2 separate regions of the Homo sapiens genome follow, and region 1 is linked to region 2. Evidence: promoter capture Hi-C in 16 types of primary human blood cells and fetal thymus (Javierre and others, 2016). All regions are on one chromosome and are shown on one strand. The core of a region is centred on a gene start or on the middle of the fragment in contact, and the rest is flanking DNA. Distances in the headings are between cores, read along the strand shown.

Region 1 (2,884 bases), core at 111-2,610, 500 kb before region 2:
GTCAAAGCTTAAAACAGGAAGTGGTATGTGAAGCTGAGTGTTTAAGCATAAACAGTCTTACTCTCCCTGCTGGTTTGAATGATGCCTGCCACTGAGTGAAGTGGGAGCTGAGGGCATGTCTCCTCTCCAGAGAACATGTTCTTTGAAGTGACGATACAGCAGAAAGGAAAACCGCTTAAGCATGCAATTCCCCAAGCACATACGGTCTGAAGAATTCCTCTGTGATTGAAACAGAAAGAAACTGCTATGGGACCAGAACAGAAAGAAGCAAGCTGGGGCCAGGCACAGTGGCTCACGCCTGTAATCCCAGCACTTTGGGAGGCCGAGGCGGGTGGATCACGAGGTCAGGAGATGGAGACCATCCTGGCTAACACGGTGAAACCCATCTCTACTAAAAACACAAAAAATCAGCCAGGCGTGGTGGCGGGTGCCTGTACTCCCAGCTACTCGGGAGGCAGAGGCAGGAGAATGGTGTGAGCTCAGGAGGTGGAGGTTGCAGTGAGCTGAGATCGTGCCACTGCACTCCAGCCTGGGTGAAAGAGTGAGACTCCGTCTCAAAAAAAAAAAAAAAAAAAAAGAAAGAAGCAAGCTGTGTTTCCCTTGAACTACAGGCCTCCCTCTGCTGGCTGAGAGTCTTCCTAATTCAGGAGACAATGACCTCTGAATGAACACCTTGGTGCAAGCTGACCTGGCCAGGTAGGGAGGTGGACAGATGGGAAGGAGCTGGGGAGGGCTCCAGGAAGGTGAGGAAGTAACGGCATCTGTACACCAGATGGCAGCAGCCACACACACATGATAGGCGAGGTGCCTGCCTGTCTTCTTCCCAGGTCAGAAACCCCTGAAGTGGGAACTGAAGACAGTGCCTTCTTGGAATAGTTCCTTTTCTTGTGGGTGGCTATAATGCCACAGGCGACGTTTATATGAAGCCTCCTGCTTCAACAGACAGGGCACAAGCAAGAGGTCATAAAAAAGACAGTTGGCCTCAGAGTATTTAATGATGAATATGGGCTAAAAACAGGGATTGTGTCCACTAAAGGAGGGGTCTAACGCTTTCTGAAAAGGGTCAGATAGCCAGGTGTGGTGGCTCACGCCTGTAATCCCAGCACTTTGGGAGGCTGAGGCAGGCAGATCACTTGAGCTTAGGAGTTGGAGGCCAGCCTGGGCAAACTCAATCTCTACAAAAAATACAACAATTAGCTGGGTGTGGTGGTATGTGCCTGTAGCCCCAGCTGCTTGGGAGGGATGCTGAGGTGGGAGGATCGCTTGAGCCCAGGGGGTCGAGGGTGCAGTGAGCCATGATTGCACCACTGCACTACAGCCTGAGTGACAGAGTGAGACCCTGTCAAAAAGAAAGGGAAAGGGAAAGGAAAGGAACAAAGGAACAGGGAGGTCAGATAGTAAATATTTTCAGCTTTGCAGATAGTAAGTATTTCCAGCTTTTCAGCCTTAAGATTTCTCTGGCCATTATGCAGATCAGCCACTGTAGCACATATGGAGCCAAAGACAATATGTAAACAAATGGGTGCGCGTATGCTCCAATAAAGCCTCATTTCCAGAAATAGGTGTTGGGCCAAATTTGGCCCGCAGACCATAGTTTGCCAACCCCTCCACTAAAGGAGTCATAAACTATCTGGCTCAGTTAGCTTGGTGCACGTGTACCCTGGGCCTGTACTGGGTAACGCTTTCCCCAATCTGTGTAAATGGAGTCCTTCTTCCCTCTCAGTTCACTCCACGGCACGAGATTAACCTACGTCTCCTTGTCACTTGGACTCAAATTCTCCCTTCTCCCTTCCACGCGACAACAAAATCAGCTGGCAAACGCTGTCTGTGGGTTCTGTACGCAACAGCTCTTCCTGGGATCAGTCCTCATTCTCATGGTCATCACAACATCCAGTATCTTCTTCATTGCTGCTAAAACACACAGCAGTGGGGTGGGCTGTAAATATTCTTTTTCAGTTGGTGCATTCTTCACACTGGTTTATCTCCCCACCTGCTCTCCCAGATTATTTTATCTTAGCCAGATGCATGTTTGAGTTACCTCTTGGGTGATGTCTCTTGCCTGCATCGGAACCCACCATAGTTGCCAACTTTTTGCTGAGTAATGCACCTGTTTCTTTCCTGCCTCAATCCAATCCTTTATTTATTTAGTTTTATTTTTTTTGAGGCACAGTCTCTCTATTGCCCAGGATGGAGTGCAGTGGCACGATCACGGCTTACTGCAGCCTCAACCTCCCTAGGCTCAGGTGGTCCTCCCACCTCAGGATTCAGAGTACCTGGGACTACAGGTGCATGCCACCCCACCTGGCTATTTATATATATATATATATATATATATATATATATATATATATATATATATATATTTTTTTTTTTTTTTTTTTTTGTAGAGACAGGGTTTCATCATGTTGCCCAGGCTGGTCTTGAACTCCTGGGCTCAAGCAACCCACCTATGTCAGCCTCCCAACATGCTGGGATTACAGGCATGAGCCACTGCAACCAGCCAATCCAATCCTTTAGACATACCTTCTCTAAAGCACCAGAAAATTCTATCTCAGTCATATCGGTTTGTCCACCAGCCCTGAAAAAACCTTGGCACCTACCTTGGCATTTGCTCAGAGTACTACCTGCCCTTATCATCCCCTTACCAAAGCAGACCACCCCTATGCTCCTGATGAAATGTAGACCATTCTATGAAGAGCCCTTGAGAGGAGCAAAAAGCTTGCCTGTCTTCTACTGGTTTCTTGGTCTGGCTTGGATCAAGCCCTTTGGAGCTTGGACTGTGTTAATCTTATGCCGCCTATGGGCTTAACTGTCGATTAATAAATTACTATGGGTATCTTTTCTGCTATTGACTTTCAACTATATCACATCGAAATCAAGACAA
Region 2 (2,771 bases), core at 1-2,500:
GCAGCTTGGGGAACCCTAGGTTTTCACTATGGGACCAAATAAACTCAGAATACTTTTGAGAACTTCAATCACATGAAATAATTATTTCAGAGAAGGATCCTTGTGGAAAGACCGTAACAGGAAGAGCATTCTGAGGTAACCTTTCCCAACTTTCTCCTCCACACATTCTTGCAGAGGAAATTAAGAGAGAGAAAAAAATTAAGAAATCCCAACTTAGTCCGGACTCTAGTAGTACATGTCAAGCACAGAACCCCTAATTTAAGACCCGCGTCCCGAGGCCAGGCTCCCTCGGGAAGGTAGCGAGTGCATCGCGATAAAATCTTTCCTCCCGCCTTCGGAGTCAAACGGCCCCGCAATCCAAACAGTTTAGAATCCAGCTTGTTCTTAATGCCACAGTCAAGAGAAGATCCATAACCCGCCTTGGTCATCTGCCCTTCTGTGTTCACAACCGTTCAGGGCACAAGTTCTTCGGTCTAACCGAATCTTTCCCTGCTGCGGGGTTAAGCCCAACCTTTCTTTCTGACCTTGGGGAGCCGGCAGCTCCCCGCCCGGTGCCCTCACAAAAGCCTTTGGGGGCTCCCTCTCCAAGATGAGACGTTTATCCCATCCCCCCACCCTCCTAAATTTAGGACAGGAAAGCTTTAGGGCCACCGTCTCTCTTCCGGGACCGATCACACTTCGTTCCAAATAGGAAAAGACAGGGGGGAAAAAAGATGGAGGGGCGGGAGACCTGGACCCCGGAGAGTCACCTTCCAGCTACCCACAGGAACCAAGCATCCGATCACTCGCGCATCCCTCTCCCCTCCTCCCCCGGCCCGCAGTGCACCCCACAGGGAGCCCCGCCGGGTCCACTCTTGCTCCGACCCCCATTTCGCGCGCCCCCTCGGCTCTATCTCCCAGATCCTCAGGCGACGAATGGAAAGGGGGTCCCTTCCCTCTCACCTGGGACGGAGGCGCTCGCTCATGGCAGCTGGCGGATGGAAGCTACGCGGCGCCGCTCCGCGAAGAGAGGGAACAGAGGGGGTTGTGTTTCGGCGGCCGCCACGCCCACCCCCTCGGGCCTTGGCTCTCGCAGCCGCTCGGGTGGACGCAGCCGGTGGCGAGTACCCCTCAGTCGGACCCGTACCACCACTACTTCCGGCGTCTGCTCCGCGCCCCCCCATGTCGCTGCCGCCGTGGTACCGCCCTCTCGCGGCTGCGCAGTGGCACCATCCCAACCGCACCGACTGGTAACCCCGCCCACGGGAAGAGGCGGGCTCGGAGCGGGAGGAGCGACTAGGAGCTTCTGGGAGAAAGGACCTCCCCTGGGGTGGCAGAAGCGCTCGCCTGTTCACAGCCAACGGAGGGTACGGTATAAAAGTCAAGCCAGGTTTCAAATAAATTCAATTATGTCATAATAATATCATACAAGTATTTGAGTTGAATCCGTGTAACATATTTTAAAACAGGCGGACCTATCCGGCAGTGGTGCAGACGGCCTGACGAGGTTCCTTGGCCGGGGGTTGGGCAGGGGCCTGGGGGGCTTCCCTGGGGGGCTTGTCGCCGGGGCCGCCTGGGCTTTCAGGTCTTCCGAGGTGAGGACGGTGCTCTGTGGGGAGCTTGCAAGGGCGGGTTTGTTTTCCGCGGCCCACGTTCTAAGTCTGGGGGAGACTCTCCTGAGCGGAGAGGGTAGGGAATCGGGTGCCGGGGCCGGCGGAGGGTCTTCCTGGAACCGCAGGAGGAAATCCTCGGTGGGGCTGCGGGAACGGCTGTCCCTGACCCAGGAGCTGCCGGGCCGACCCCATCCACTCCGCAGAATCAGAACAGCTGGCAGAATCAGAACAGCTTTCAGGGAAAGGAAGGGTGCGGGGAGGTGGGCAGGCTGGTAACGCAGCGGGAGGAGGGAAAGGCGGCTGGAGAGCGCCGGAGGTGAGGGTGAGGATTAGTGGAACTATTGAGGTCCTCCTTGAGCCCGGAGGCTGGGGAGGTCTTAACTCTCTGCTTTCCGGAACCTGTGTTTCTATTTGGTTCAGTATCGTGCCGCGTTTACTCACTGTGCATGCTGCCAAGTCACCTGTCTGATCGTGTCCTACACAGGCTGACATTCACGTTTCATTCTGCCACACTCGGGAACGGTGATCGGGGAAGCATGGGGATCCGGGAGAAGCACCCACAAAACTAGCATCCTCCTGGAGGAGCTCGGGTAAGAAAACAGACACCCACGTATAGACGTTATCGTGGGAATGTACCGGGATCTTTCAAGTAGGGTTGAGTGTGAGGTGGAGTGGAGGCAGAAACGTCTAGCAGGTGTCAAGCCCTTCCTAACGTTGTTAGCCGAAGGTCCATGGACTGGCTTCATTTGTGTGTATTATTGTAAACAAACAGTCTGTGGCTTTCATCCTGTTAGTGTGTACCTCCAAAGAAAGAAAGAATGATGGCTCACGCCTGTAATCCCAGCAGGCTGGGCGCGGTGGCTCACGCCTGTAGTCCCAGCACTTTGGGAGGCCGAGGCGGGTGGATCACCTGAGGTCAGGAGTTCAAGACCAGCCTGGCCAACATGGTGAAACCCCGTCTCTACTAAAAATACTAAAATTAGCTGGGCGTGGTGGCGCACGCCCTTAATCCCAGTAATCCCAGCCACGCGGGAGGCTGAGGCAGGAGAACCGTTTGAACCTGGGAGGCTGAGGTTGCTGTGAGCCGAGATCGCGCCACTGCACTCCAGCCTGAGTGATAGAGCAAGACTCCATCTCAAAAAAAAAAAGACCAAACAACAACAAAGTAAAAATGATTAC

Evidence for each region. The method cuts DNA at HindIII sites, captures the fragments that hold promoters and counts their contacts. A CHiCAGO score of 5 or more calls a contact.
Region 1: a fragment that was not itself captured here is called in contact with the fragment with the promoter of VCF1 in region 2 in 13 of 17 cell types (megakaryocytes, fetal thymus, total CD8 T cells and 10 more); the score reaches 22.2 in megakaryocytes.

The regions. Positions count from the first base shown.
Region 1 is chr17:72,727,096-72,729,979 of GRCh38, forward strand. The region is part of intron 7 of SLC39A11 (solute carrier family 39 member 11); the gene reads right to left. Among named protein-coding and RNA genes, the nearest start is that of LINC00511, 88 kb to the left of the region's middle. RefSeq lists an enhancer at 595-889. The HindIII fragment of the contact is 2,711 bases long and covers 6-2,716 here.
Region 2 is chr17:73,231,144-73,233,914 of GRCh38, forward strand. VCF1 (VCP nuclear cofactor family member 1) reads right to left here and starts at 1,251. Exons shown (of 4, transcript NM_001098832.2): 1 at 943-1,251. The coding sequence starts at 1,163. It overlaps MTNAP1 (mitochondrial nucleoid associated protein 1), which reads left to right and starts at 1,290. Exons shown (of 6, transcript NM_001351264.2): 1 at 1,290-1,346; 2 at 2,077-2,182. RefSeq lists an enhancer at 1-744. The HindIII fragment of the contact is 5,222 bases long and covers 638-2,771 here.